Regions from separate parts of the Homo sapiens genome. Here all the other regions are linked to region 5. Evidence: promoter capture Hi-C in 16 types of primary human blood cells and fetal thymus (Javierre and others, 2016). All regions are on one chromosome and are shown on one strand. Each heading gives the region's core, a stretch centred on a gene start or on the middle of the fragment in contact. The rest is flanking DNA. Distances are from core to core; before and after follow the strand shown. Region 1 overlaps CUX1 (cut like homeobox 1). Region 2 has its middle 2.5 kb from the start of MYL10. Region 3 overlaps LINC01007 (long intergenic non-protein coding RNA 1007). Region 4 overlaps CUX1 (cut like homeobox 1). Region 5 holds the start of CUX1 (cut like homeobox 1).

Region 1 (2,700 bases), core at 170-2,669, 140 kb before region 5:
TTACACGTGAATCTCATTAGAGAAACCTGAAGCGGGCAAGACAAACACAACGAACCTTGCTGCAAAAGCTAAAACGACAGATTCCGGAGACATTTCGGAATGGTGGAATTGAAAGAAACATCAGGGCAAACACAGTTGGTCACTGGGTCGAGGATGAAAAAAGCACCGAACGGAGGCCGCCCCAACCAACCAGGCGCCGGAAAAAGCTCTCTCAATTTCATTTCATGGGACCGTGCGATTCTTACGCAACCGTGCCAATGTGAGGCATCTCGATGGCATTAAAGTCTTGTTAAAACAGCAAACCTGTTCTTTTCAAGAGAACAATGGTATTCTAAAAAGCCTTGCAAAATTAATCGAGTTATTACCCTATAAAGAGTCAAACATGTAACTATGTTTAAAAGGGTCCACAGGTTGTACCATGTCCAAACAGAGAATATGTACGCGGTGAAATCCTCCGCAGAACACCTTCCCATTAATTAGGCAGTGGAAACAGCAGCCTCCCCAAATCGAGCAGGAACAAACAGGAAAGAAAAGAATATACTTCTTGTGAGAGAGAGGGGAAAAAAAATACACGCAAACAAAGAAATTAAAGGCAATGCACTCCACCCTCGATAGAATCAGTTTCAACAGAAATAATGAGAGATCTTACGTGGGCTGCCATGATTTCTTCACGTTGCTCTAAAAGCGGAAGGCGGCTTTCCTGGTTGGCACCCGAAGAGGCAGAACACTGAGGACTCAGAGCCCAAAGAGAACCACCGCCTGCCTTAGGAGGGGAGTGCAGCCTGGTTTGCCATATAATGACGAGAAAAGCAAATCAGCTGGGAGGAAAGAAGGCAATTCTTCTTATCTGGGATAGGAGGGAGAGAAATAGGAAAACTTCCCAGGTGGTGAGTTAAGAAAAAAGGGGAGAGGAGTATTGGCAACTTGGGAATGAGGATGCCAGGTGAATACCCTTGTCTTAGCCACGCTCTCTTGCACACACACACACACACACACACACACACACACACACTGCACACACATAGAGCTAGGTAAGGAAAACATTCTGGGGGAAAAGTCTGTTTTTCCTGAATCTATAGGCACCATCCAATCATCCAGGCTGGGCGTGGTTGCTCACACCTGTAATCCTTTGGGAGGCCGAAGTGGGCGGATCACTTAAGCCCAGGAATTTGAGACCAGCTTAGGCAACACTGCCAGACCGTGTCTCTATAAAAAATTTAAAAATTAGCCAGACATGGTGGCTGGCATGAGCCTGTAGTCCTAGCTACTTAGGAGGGCTGAGGTGGGAGGATTGCTTAAGCCAGGGAGGTCGAGGCTGCAGTGAGCCACGACTGTACCACTGGAGTCCAGCTTGGGCGACAGGGCAATACTGTCTCTTAAAAAAAAAAAAAAAAAAAAAAAAAAAAGGGCATCATCTCCTTATGACAGAAAAGGAATTCTCTCTGTGTTTTCATGCTTCTGTGAAAACTTCAGGACTGGCCAGTGGCTCATGCCTGTAATCCCAGCACTTTGGGAGGCTGAAGTGGGCAGACTGCTTAAGCCCAGGAGTTTGAGACCAGCCTGGCCAACATGGTGAAACCCCGTCTCTACTGAAAATACAAAATTAGCCAGGCATGGTGGTGCGCACCTGTAATCTCAGCTACTTGAGGGGCCGAGGAAGAAGAATCACTTGAACCTGGGAGGTGGAGGGTGCAGTGAGCTGAGACTGTGTCACTGCACTCAAGTCTGAGCAACAGAGTGAGACTCCGCCTCAAAAAAAAAAAAAAAAAAAGAAAAGAAAATCTCAGGACCACCCTAGAGTCCTTTTGGGTTACTCCTCCCACTGAACCAAGTTCCATCTCCTAAATATTCTCACATCTTGCTGCTGCTGCTGCTGCTGCAGCTTCAGGCCGGGCCCACATCCTGGCTCCCAAGTAGGGCCCAGTTCCCACGACAGCCCCACTACGTCTCTCCTGAGCCCCAGGGTTCAGCACAGATGACATGACTTACACAGCACACACCAGATGTCAACGCTGTCATTTCTGTTACCTGTGTGCCCCTTCCCACCTTTGGGTTGGAGGTTCTAGAAGGAGGGGGGCTATTTTTACCCACCTAGCACTCTGCACACTTCACACGGAGTCTGGCACATGGCACGGTGGCAATATTTCCACTAATAACAGCAAGTATTCCAGAAACATGTTCCAGCAAAGGGCTCGCATACTTTTGTCTCATTTAATCACTTTAGCAGCTCCATGAGATGGGTACCAGAGATCCCCCATTACACGGGTAGGGACAAGGAAACTCAGATGACTGAATTACTTGCCCAGGGACTGCAGTGAGTAAACGGCAGCTGGGGTTCTGATCTGTGGGACTTCCAAACTCTCACACTTAACCACTGTTTCCGTTTAAAGATGTCTGGTGAATAAATTAATAAGTACGAAGAGTCTTTCAAAAAGACTCTATTTTGCAGACTTGGACATTTTCTTATTGTTTTCAAATTAAAAAGTAACATTCTCTTGTTTTTTTTAAATTATTTTATTTTTTAAGAGATGGAATCTCACTCTGTTGCCCAGGCTGGAGTGCAGTGGCGTGATCTCAGCTCACTGCAACCTCCACCTCCCAGGTTCAAATGATTCTCCTGCCTCAGCCTCCCTACTAGCTAGGACTACAGGCGCCTGCCACCACACCTGGCTATAATTTTTATTGTATTTTTAGTAGAGA
Region 2 (2,700 bases), core at 169-2,668, 190 kb after region 5:
AAAAACAAAAAACAAAAAAAAACCCCAAAGCATAGCAGTGTGCTCAGGGGTTCTTATGGATCAGAAATTCAGAAAAGGGATGGTGAGGGTGGCTTGTCATAATGTCTAGGGCCTCAGCTCGGGGGACTCTAAGGATGGGGATGACTCCATGGCTGGTGCCAGAATCACTTGAAGACTGGTCATTCACACGTTTGTTGTCTGGGAGGCTCGGATGATGACTCAAAGGCAGGGACTGCTGACTGGAGTACAGACACGGGGCCTCTTCGTGTGACTTGGTCTTCCCTACAACATGGCCGCCTCATGGTAGTCAGACTCGTCATAGAGTGACTCAGGGCTCCAGCACAAAGTCCCAGCAAATAAGGTAGAAGCTCCATGGCTTTTTGTGACTTAACCTCAGAAGTCACATAGTGACACTTCTACCCTACTTTCTTGGTCAAAGCAGTCACAAAAGCCTGCCTGTTGGCAAGGAATGATGTTATAGATCCCGCCTCTCCATGGAAAAAGTGTCAAAGAATTTGCAGGCATTTTTTACGGCAGCCTGGGATTGCTCAGGGAAGGTCAGAAAGTGGCCTAGGCTCTCAAATTCAGTAGGTAGGTGTGATGGCTAATATTAAGTATCAACTTGATTGGATTGAAGGATGCAAAGTATTGTTTCTGGGTATGTCTGTGAGGGTGTTGGTAGAGGAAATTAACATTTGAGTCGGTGGACTGAGAGAAGCAGACCCACCCTTAATCTGTGTGGGCAGCGTCTAATCAGCCAGTGAGGCCAGAATAAAGCAGAAAGAAGAAAGTGGAATAAGAAGACTCACTGAGTCTTCCAGCCTTCATCTTCTGTGCTGGAAGCTTCCTGCCCTCGAACATCAGACTCCAAGTTCTTCAGCTTTTGAACTCTTGAACTTAAACCAGTGGTTTGCCAGGAGCTCTTGGGCCTTCGGCCACAGACTGAAGGCAGCACTGTTGGCTTCCTTTTGTTTTTGTTGTTTTTTGTTTTTTGTGTTTTCTTTTGAGACACAGTCTCACTCTGTTACCCAGGCTAGAGTGCAGTGGTGCTATCTCAGCTCACTGCAACTTCCACCTCCCAGGTTCAAGCGATTCTCCTGCCTCGGCCTCCCGAGTAGCTGGGATTACAGACGCACACCACCACGCCTGGCTAATTTTTGTACTTTTAGTAGAGACAGCGTTTTGCCGTGTTGTCCAGGCTGGTCTTGACCTCCTGAACTCAGGTGATCCACCCACTTTGGCCTCCTAAAGTTCTGAGATTACAGGCGGGAGCCACCACGGCCGTCCGAGAGGTGTTCTAAAGCAGGCTGGAGACTGATTGTGATGAGTAGGGAAACATACAATGTGGCCAAAGGCTTGGAGGAAGGAGATTTCGGGAAGAATTTGCAGAACAGCCAAGGTCAGGGTGATGGCTGGCCAGGGAAGGGGTCAAGGGCTGTGGGGCTGGGGGACAGGGACAGCCTGCTGACCCTGAGGAGTTATAGGTGAGAGGTTAGGGGTGAGGGTTGAAAGGGGAAGGCATCTCCCCGGCTTGTTCCAGTGTTGTCTGGGGAACAGCTGTCCCCCTGCCAGGCAGCTGGGCTCGTTCCAAGCTCCCTTCCTGGCTTGGCCACTCCCAGGACCTCAGTTACCTCTGGAAACCGAGAGTGCTAAGTATTCTCTGACTCAACCCCAGGCAGACCTGGAATTCCAGTTCCAGAGGACACTTACTCTCCAGGGTCCCCTGGCTGGGAGCAGAGACCTCTCAGAGTGTCTCTGACCCCAAGAACTGGCCCTGGCCCTGTGGTCAGTTGAGTCAAACAGTGTGACCCAGCCACGACAACTGACTCATTGCAGTGTCACCTGGGTGAGGGGGCTGCAGCTTGGAGAGGCTGCAAGTTCTGTCAAGGACTCCATCTACACAGGGGGAAAGGGGGACAGGGGAAGGCTCTGCCCTCCAAACCCCAGGCCGATGACCCCAAAGCCCACCTCCTTCCAATGGCACTAAGCTTCCCGATGGCAGCCTCAAGGGGTCCTGGCTGCTGGCACCATTTCTCAGATGGGGAAAACTGAGGGTCCCACTGTGGGTGCAGAACTCACGGCTCCCCCTTCTCAAGGCCACTGCACCCTCACACTTCCCGCCCCCCAGGAACAAACATCTCCCAACCATCTCACCCCGGGGTTTTCACGTCTCTACCAGATTTCTCACCGGTTCTTCCTGCCTCCGGTCCTATGAAGGAGGAGGCCAGGGGAGGAAATCCACTCAGACTAATTTGTAAGCCCGGTGTGATTCACCAGCGCCGCTTCCCCTCCTCCGGGCAGGCGGGGGGGCTCTCCGCTTGCTCAGGCCTGTCCCCGGCCTTTGGGAGCCCCTGCCACGGTCCTGGGCGTGCTCCCCGGAGGCAAGAGCCCTTGCTTGCAGAGGCCTCAGGGCAGCAGGAAGCCAGAGGCAGGAAGCAGGAGTTATAGGTCTGCTACCCACTCTGTAAGCCCAGAGCCAGGAGGCCCCAGGGCCAGGCTCACAGACCGGGCATGGAAAGCCTGCACCCTAGCCACTGTCGCGGTCACACAGGCCCCCTTCTGTAGCAGGTCCAGGCGGCTGGGACTGGAATCCAGGCTCCCGTCCCCAGAGCTGGGTTCTCCTTTCCGCCTGGCTTGTTGAACACCTGTGGAACGTGTGGTTTTTCTCCCCGGAGAGGAACGCCAGGACACCAGGAGAGC
Region 3 (2,700 bases), core at 163-2,662, 260 kb after region 5:
ACCACAGTCCAGCCCTGCAGCGTCCTAGCTGGGAGCCTGGGGTGCTTTGCTTCCTACTCCGAGTCTTGGGCCCTGTGGACAGCTTGGAAGTGCAAGCGGCGGTGTCCACACATGCATGCAAGAACCTTCCTGAAGCTGGGCAGAGGATCAGATGGGCCCGCCCTGTCTCCTTGGCTGCAGGGGTGAGAGGAGGTGAAGATTTGAGGGGGTCACACAAGGCCAAGAGCTGGGCTCCCCCTGGGGCTTTGAGGCCCTTCCCCCAACAGCGCTGTCCCATTTCCTGCAGACGCTTAGCACTGCTTTGCGCGGGGGGAGCCAGCCTCCACAGCTGGACAGAGATGAGGCCGGACAATGGGCAGACCTCCTGGCTGACTCCTGGGGCTGCAGCCACTATGTGTGCAGAAGGTGGTCAGGACAGGGACCCAGGTGACAGCACCAGGGGGCAGAGCTCAGGCTTGAGGCCAGGAACAGGGGAGCCACAGCAGATTCATGAGTGAGGGAGGAGCAACGCCAGGCTTGCACTTCAGAAAGGTCATTCTACGGCCAGATGGCAAGGAGAGGCCAGACTGAGACCCTCAGTGGTCAGTTTCCTCTCCCTCCAGCATCACGGTCCTCGGAGATCCCCACCCTGGCAGGTGCTTCAGTGTCCTGGGAGATTCGTTCCACCCCCACCCAAATCTCCTCTGCCCTTTATCCGCCCCCAGCCTTTGCTCACACTTGGCCTCTTCGGCAGCGCCATCCCTGGGTTTATGTGAACTCTCTTTTTTCCTTCCAGAACCGCTTTCTCGGGGGCAGAGCAGAGCATGGCTTCCCAAATCCCACAGACCTGATCTGGAACTCAGCTTCACCGCCAACCGCCTGTGTGACCTTGAGGAAGCTATGTAACCTCTCTGGGGCTCAGCTGACTCACCCCAAAATGAGAGAGGTGGCTGTGACGTTAAAGGAGGTGACATGTTTCACTGTTTAGCACTGGATCTGTCCTCACCATATTAAGGACCAACTCACACCCAGCCCCTTGGGGGAGACCTTCTCCCTCAGCTCTGTCTCAGACCTTCTCTGGGACCCACAGTATCTGCTACCCTGGCTCCATCGAACACACTCCGGGCTGGCCCGTCCACCCTGCTGGCGGGAGCTTGGAAGTTGTTTTTCCCCAAACATTCCTCATACAGCCCTTTCCCTACCCTCCTAGACTCTGCTGGTCCCATCCAGGCTCTCCCATAGCGGGATCCAGGGACCAGAGGAAAAATGAAGGCATCCCATGAGTCTATTTAAAAGTTACACATCGAGGCTGGGTGCGGTGGCTCACACCTGTAATCCCAGCCCTTTGGGAGGCTGAGATGGGTGGATCACCTGAGGTCAGGAGTTCGAGACCAGCCTAGACAACATGGTGAAACCCCGTCCCTACTAAAAATACAGGAAAAAAAAAATAGCTGGGTGTGGCGGCAGGCACCTGTAATCCCAGCTACTCAGGAGGCTGAAGCAAGAGAATTGTTTGAACTGGGAGGCGGAGGTTGCAGTGAGCCGAGATCGTGCCACTGCACTCCAGCCTGGGCGACAGAGAGAGAGAGAGAAAAAAAGTTATACATTGAGCTAACCAGCTGTTAAGTAACACAGGCTCTATCTTCCTACTTTGACAGATATCTTTTTCCAAGGACCTGGAAGGCCAGGTTTGACGTTGGAATTGTGACTGTCAGAGTCTTGTGCTGGAAGGTGACAGCCGGGAGAGCCAGCCCCTGTCATCCTCCAGCCCTTCTGCTTCCCTCACTAGCTTCCACCTTGCACCACGGGGGGCTTCGTGTGCCCACCTGAGGGTGCCCACCTGGAGCGTCTAAGCTCAGTTCACACCCTCCAAACTCAGCAACCCCTTGATTGAAAGACAAAGGTGTCATTGGGCGTGGAGTCTGCCTTTAAGACAAAAGGAAGGGGAAGACCTTGGGGGAAGTGGGGGCAGCCCTGGGGCAGGACGTTTTGGTGTCCTAGGTAATGCAGGCAAATCTCTCTCTTAGGATCCCATCTCTGCCACTGGGTCTGGGGGAATGAATGCCTGCTGGTCTGCTTCCCCAAGGAGGAGAGGAGGTGTTTTTTCACACACACACACAAAATTAAAATAAGTTTTAAAAATTAAAAAATAAGACTAATTGTCAGCTCCCAGTCCTTAGCGCTTCCATATTGCTGATCATCTGGACGTGGCTAGGCTTCTAGCCTATCATCTTATTGGCTTTAAAAATACATACACTTACCACCTATTTTGGTTTTGTTTTGTTTTGTTTTTGAGACGGGGTCTTGCTCTGTTGCCCAGGCTGGAATGCAGTGGTGTGATCTCAGCTCACTGCAGCCTTGACCTCCCAAGCTCAAGTGATCCTCCTGCCTCAGCCTCCAAGTGGCTGGGACAACAGGTGCATGCCACCACATCTGGCTAATTTTTTTTTTTTTAGAGATGGGGTCTCACTATGTTGTCCAGGCTGTTTATTGCCTATTTTGACTTCTTCCCCTTGAAGCGTTGGTTCATTGAGGGCAGAGATTCCTGTCTTTTGTTCATGGAAAGTTCTCAGGGCCTGGCTCAATTAAGGTGATCAATAAAAGATTTGTTACATGAAGGAAAGGAGGAAGGAAGGAAAGATGCGTGGTTTTGTAACTCCTGCCCTGGGAAAAGGAATAAAAGGGGCGAGGACATTTCTCCAGCCTAAACCTACTCACACT
Region 4 (2,764 bases), core at 87-2,586, 190 kb before region 5:
GGAACCGCTGTGGCTGGCAGGCCGAGCCTCTGAACACTGCAATTCAGGTTAATCATGCAGACCTGCTGGAGCACGCGGGGCCGAGGGTTCCCTGTACCTCCCTTCTCTCCCCTGCTGTATGGATCTCTGACCTCACTACTGGCAGGCCTGAACTGCCATGAGTGATCAAGAACCTGAGAGGCCTCTGATCTGCTCCACCTACATCTGTGCCCACCAGGAAAAACAAAAATCCTGATAAAAGACCTGGGGTGCGCATCAGGATTCACCATGACTGTGCTGTGGTCTCGCCTCCTGAAAAGCTATTTTGTTCATCGTAAGTAGGCAGTTTGACAATTGCTCAATGTTCAGGCCCTACCCCATGTCCTGTCCTAGTCAAGGTCAGGGAAGGAAAGGTGCCTTGTCCCCAGGCATGTGGGCCCCCAGCAGAGCAGGACAGGCTGGGGACCTGGGGTTCTTAGGCTCTTTTGGTTGGGGGCTGAACACTGGTCATATCCCAATCTCTAGAGAGGGCAGAGGAGGACAGACACGCACTCTGCACCTCAGGGATTACACGAGGAGAATAAAGACACGCACACGACCGAAATACCAGGCAGGAAATGAAATGTGCCGAAAGACAGGCGCAGCTAGCCTACAACGGGGGCCCAAGGAATGAAAATCCCTCTTTGCTGGGCTGGGGGCACCTGAATTGGGTGATATTTGCCACAGAGGGGCGAGTAGAGGTGGGGGGGCTTTCTAGAAAGAGACAAGATACAAACAGAAGGAAAAAAGAGGAGATCCAGAGATACAAACAAGGTGAAGCTGATGGAGTAAGACATGGGAGAGGGGGCCAGCGGGGACAGGCTCCCAGATCACCGAAGCCCCTAGAAGAACCCAGACATGGCCTGAGAGGCGGGTGGACGGCCACCAACCATGCAAAAGGTAGTACGCAGAGACCAGACCAGGGTCTGCTTCAGGAAGGTGACTCCTGCTAAAGGACAGGCCAGAGGGGAAAGCCTGGAGATGGAAGATACCAGCTGGGAAATACAAGTTTGGACGAAGGTAACAGAACCAGAAGTGGTGCCTGTAATCCCAGCACTTTGGGAGGCCAAGGCAGGTAGATCACCTGAGGTCAGGAGTTCGAGACCAGCCTGACCAACATGGTGAAACCTTGCCTCTACTAAAAATACAAAAATTAGCCGGGTGTGGTGGCGGGTGCCTGTAGTCCCAGCTACTCAGGAGGCTGAGACAGTAGAATCGCTTGAACCCAGGAGGCGGAGGTTGCAGTGAGCCGAGATCGCACCACTGCACTCCAGCCTGGGTGACAAGAGTGAGACTCTATCTCAAAAAAAACAAAACAAAACAAAACAAAAAAAACACCAGAGGTGGGTGGTGGCGAGGGAGGGGGGAGGAGGAAGACAACGTTCCCCAGAATTAAAATAAACTGGACTTGGCAAGCAGACTGACGGGAACAGGAGAGAGTGGGGCTTTGTAGAAGTTTAGGGCCCAGGTGAGGGTGGCAGCCCCTGCCACAAGCCAGACAGGAGGGGTGCAGGCCAGGAACTGATCTGGTGGTGAAGATGATGAGAAATCCACGTGGGAAATACCCGGAGCTGGCAGGACTTCCACAGAGAACCCAGGCCCTGGCACCCAGGGGCGGAGGGTGGGAGGTGAGGAGGTTCTGTGGCCAGGGTGCTTGGAAATGTCCCCTTAACAGGAGAGGGGAAGAGAACAGAAAGGCTGCAACAACTAAAAACTATAAGGGGCAAAAGGCTGAGACCTGTGGAAGAGCCGAGGGCCTCAGTGAGTGAGTGGTCTGATCTGAGAATGAACTGAGGGGTTCAAAGTCAGAGAGGGCCATGGCTTAGGTACAGGAGGCCGAGGCTGCAGTGAGCCAGGATCGCGCCCCTGCACTCCAGCCTGCGCTACAGAGCGAGACCCTGTCTCAAAAATTCAATCAGTAACAAATGAAATACAAACAAAATAAAAATTCAGAGGGCCATCAGTGAAGACCTCGGGGCATCTAGGCTCCGTGCATGGGGTCTGTTCCTTGGATGAGGCCAGCAGCAAAGATGAGAGATCCATCCCAAGGCAGCTCGTGCAGAGCCACTGCCAAGCAGAGGAGGAGGCCCGCGCTGGCGAAATCTACAAGAAATACACTTTTGTGTGGGAAATCTAAGAAGCAAGGGCTTTCCGCTGCATCCCGGCCTGCACCGTGGTGGGCGGGGACGGCTTCTTGCTCCTCTCGCACGCCCAGCATGGAGCAGCCCCTTGCACCCTTGGCAGTGACGCCTGATGCATCCAGTGGTTTTATTCCACATCTGCCCGTCACAAACTGTTCTAGATGAAATCAGTTTCTGAAGATGACAGCCCAAACCCATTCACCAATAACCTTATTTTCCCTAAAAGAAAAATTCATTCTAGGGCCGGGCACGGTGGCTCACGCCTGTAATCCCAGCACTTTGGGAGGCTGAAGCGGGTGGATCGCCTGAGACCAGCCTGGCCAACATAGTGAAACTCCATCTCTACTAAAAATACAAAAATTAGCCAGGTGTGGTGGCGCGCTCCTGTAATCCCAGTTACTCGGGAGGCTGAGGCATGAGAATTGCTTGAACCCGGGAGGCGGAGGTTGCAGTGAGCCGATATCGTGCCATTTCACTCTAGCGTGGGTGATAGCGCGAGACTCTGTCTCAAAGAAAGAAAAGAAAAGAAAAGAAAAAAAATCCATTCTACCGAGATGAGATAAAAACTGGCATTCCAGAGTTGTCCTTCGAGGGAGCACTGAGGC
Region 5 (2,783 bases), core at 241-2,740:
ATAAAACACAATCTTCAGAAATTCTCTTCCTGAGCACACACTCCTGTGCCAAGGCAGCAGCTTCAAGACCCAGGAAGCCGAGGGACAAGAACCCAGTGAGCCAGGGTTGCAGAACTGCGGAACGGCCCAACCTCACCTGGACCCGCTGACGTCTCCAACCTGGATTTCTCTCTGCAAAGACCGATCAGCCTCTTTACCCCCAGGTGGCAACCCAATCTCAGTATAAAGAGGTCTGGAAAAATGAGAAAAATCTGGAACTAATGAATTCTCTCCCAAACTCGTTCTATTGACTCACTGACTATCGGTGGGAATTAACCAGACACCAACTCCAAAGGCCTCCTCACCGCCCAGAGAAAGAACCAGATTGGCCTGAGACTTGAACTTTGACATTCCGTATTCGACTAAAGTTTGCAAACCCATAGGAAATCATCTAAGGCCAAATCGTTAGCAACCACCAAAAGCAAAGGAGTAAAGAGGAATGAAGTTCAAATAAGGGACTTTGTTTTGGGGTTTGGTTTTGATTTCTTCTTAATATCCACATAAAGTGCAAGTAAACTGACATGGAAACTTTCGATGGAACCCTGGAGCCCTGATCCCCTGAAGAAGTAGCTAATATGGGGGACAGGAAGGTTTAGAGTTCTTAAAATCTAGTAACTCTAGAAACCAAATCCATTTTCCAGGCAATTTTGCCAGGATGCTTTAAAAAAGACACTTCATTGATATTAAGCTAGGATGTCACATTTAGGAAGACAAGAGAGAAAAATAATAATAATGTTTGTCCTTAAAACTCCACAACGGGTTTTACAGTAAGCACAGGAATTAAATTATGGTAAAAGGGAGCTATTTTTACTAAAACAGGGTAGACCAATTTATCAAAAATGCCATTCGGCTGTGTTCATTACATCCAGGAATCTAATTTACACAATAGACACTTTGGAGTAATCTATTTTAGTCAATAAATACTTAAACTCCTTTAAGTTTTAATCTTATCGGAAATACATATTTCGCATAGTCTTCTTCCTAGTTAAGCGAGAAATTTCAGGAAATTTCATAACGACTATGACTCGGCTTTATCGTTCTTAGTAGGCAAGAGCAGAAAACAAGCATATACAATTAAAGTTGTCAGATTCCATTTAAATATGTTTTAATCCAACCCGCTTCGTTTGATACAAGCCTGCATCTCGAGCTTTGCTCCCAAAGGTATTGCGGTAGGTCACTGTCACCAGTCCTCCAGGTTAGGAAAGTTCAGCCAAGTTTATCTTCACGCACACCTTAGCAGTTGGGAGTAGCTGCAGTTCCCCAGGGGCCCTGAGGAACCCTCCTATCCCCTCCCAGAGCACCAGGCCGCCCTAGAGCATTCTAAGCCGCGGGACCCGGGCACCCCCCGACATCCCCGGTTCCCTCCGCGCCTGCAACCTCGGGACTTCTGGCCCACACGCCGCTCACCTTCAACCTGGCTCCGGCTACGCACAACATCCACCTGGCAGAGTCCCGGGGCTGTCCCGGCGCCGCGGGCGCCGAGCTGGCACGTGCGGGGCGGACCCTAAGGGTGCGCCGCTCCTCCGGGCGGGGGGTGGCAGGCAGGCACTCGCCCCTTGGGCACGGCGGCGACTCGGGCGCGGGCCGGGGAGCCCCGGCACGGTCCCCCCGCGGCGCCGGGGACTCCGCGCGCGGACCACCGCCCGGCATGCCACGGTCCCAACGGGCCCCCGGGGCTCTGCTTTCGAGAACCCGGCCCGAGAAGGCATCTCCGAGCGCACCCGCCGCGCGCTCCATGGCGGGCCCTGCAGAGAGGGCAGAAGCCCCGAGGGGACGCAAGGAAGGGACCCGGCGCCGCAGGTCACCGGGGGCCGCCGGAGCCCCCAGGCGCGCGGCGATCGCGGCTCGGACCGGCGGCGGGGAGGCAGCGTACACTGCCCGGGCACCCGGGGGAACAGCTTGGGGCCTGCCTAGGGGAAAGTTGCAGCCTCCTCCTCCCGCGCCCGCACCCGGCGGTCCGGGACACCGGGACCCAGCGACACTGCGCGCGGGGCACCCCCGCCGCCCCTCGCCAAGTTTCCCCAAAGAGCCCCCGCGGGGGTCCGCCACGGAGGAACAGGTCCGCGTCACCGACACAGGCACACAAAAGAGCGCGGCGGCCGCGAGGTGCGCGGGTGGCCCCGGGGCGCTCCCCGGGACGTAAACAAACCCGGGGGTCCGCGCCGGGAGCCACACGCGGGGTGCCGGAGCGGCGGCGCGGCCCGGGCCGGTGACAGCCGGGGGCGGCGGCCGGGGCCGGCCGGGGGTAGCGAGCGCGGGCGCCTGCCCGGCCACCCGCCCGCCTGGCCGGAGCCGGGCCGCGCCGCCGCCGCCGCCGCCGGTGGCCGCTCTGACCCTCCCCCGAGCCGGCGGCACCACAGCGCCACCAGCCCCAGCTCCGCCGCGCCGGCGGCAGTGGCGGCGGCTCCTCCTGGAGAGGCAGGCGCTTCACCCCCCGCAGCAACTCCCCACAAACTTTCCCCGGGAATACGGCGGGCCGGGGGCGCGGGGCGAGCGGGCGGGCGGGCGCCACCGCCGGGCCGCGGCCCCCTCCCGGCGCCCGCCGCCGCCCGCCCCCCGCCGCCCGCTCCCCGCTCCCCGCTCGCGCGCGCACCCCGCGGGCCGCCGGGGCCGCCCCCTCCCCGGTCCCGCGGCGGCAACGGCGGCGGCGGCGCTGGCGGCGGCGGCGGCGCGGGGCCCGGGGGGGCGCCCGGGGTGGGGGCAGACACCGGGGGCAGTGGTGGCGGCGGCGGCTCCCGGCGCCA

The links. Contacts are between HindIII fragments. The CHiCAGO score rates a contact against its expected background, and 5 or more counts as called.
Region 1: a contact is called between a fragment that was not itself captured here and the fragment with the promoter of CUX1 in region 5, in 1 of 17 cell types (M1 macrophages). The highest score is 6.1, in M1 macrophages.
Region 2: a contact is called between a fragment that was not itself captured here and the fragment with the promoter of CUX1 in region 5, in 1 of 17 cell types (M0 macrophages). The highest score is 5.7, in M0 macrophages.
Region 3: a contact is called between a fragment that was not itself captured here and the fragment with the promoter of CUX1 in region 5, in 1 of 17 cell types (M2 macrophages). The highest score is 5.3, in M2 macrophages.
Region 4: a fragment that was not itself captured here is called in contact with the fragment with the promoter of CUX1 in region 5 in 2 of 17 cell types (M1 macrophages and fetal thymus); the score reaches 5.4 in M1 macrophages.

Annotation. Positions count from the first base shown.
Region 1 is chr7:101,957,551-101,960,250 of GRCh38, reverse strand. All of the region lies in intron 2 of CUX1 (cut like homeobox 1), which reads right to left. Among named protein-coding and RNA genes, the nearest start is that of CUX1, 140 kb to the right of the region's middle. The HindIII fragment of the contact is 3,714 bases long and covers 1-2,700 here.
Region 2 is chr7:101,630,416-101,633,115 of GRCh38, reverse strand. No RefSeq gene overlaps it. Among named protein-coding and RNA genes, the nearest start is that of MYL10, 2.5 kb to the right of the region's middle. The HindIII fragment of the contact is 1,145 bases long and covers 846-1,990 here.
Region 3 is chr7:101,561,163-101,563,862 of GRCh38, reverse strand. LINC01007 (long intergenic non-protein coding RNA 1007) reads left to right here. Exons shown (of 3, transcript NR_103749.1): 3 at 776-1,108. Among named protein-coding and RNA genes, the nearest start is that of LINC01007, 6.5 kb to the left of the region's middle. RefSeq lists an enhancer at 1-3. The HindIII fragment of the contact is 9,098 bases long and covers 1-2,700 here.
Region 4 is chr7:102,006,319-102,009,082 of GRCh38, reverse strand. The region is part of intron 2 of CUX1 (cut like homeobox 1); the gene reads right to left. Among named protein-coding and RNA genes, the nearest start is that of CUX1, 190 kb to the right of the region's middle. The HindIII fragment of the contact is 4,137 bases long and covers 1-2,764 here.
Region 5 is chr7:101,816,333-101,819,115 of GRCh38, reverse strand. It overlaps CUX1 (cut like homeobox 1), which reads right to left and starts at 1,490. Exons shown (of 24, transcript NM_181552.4): 1 at 1,447-1,490. The coding sequence starts at 1,476. RefSeq lists silencers at 1,541-1,590, 1,641-1,710, 1,741-1,820, 1,891-2,210, 2,321-2,480 and an enhancer at 2,306-2,783. The HindIII fragment of the contact is 10,531 bases long and covers 1-2,783 here.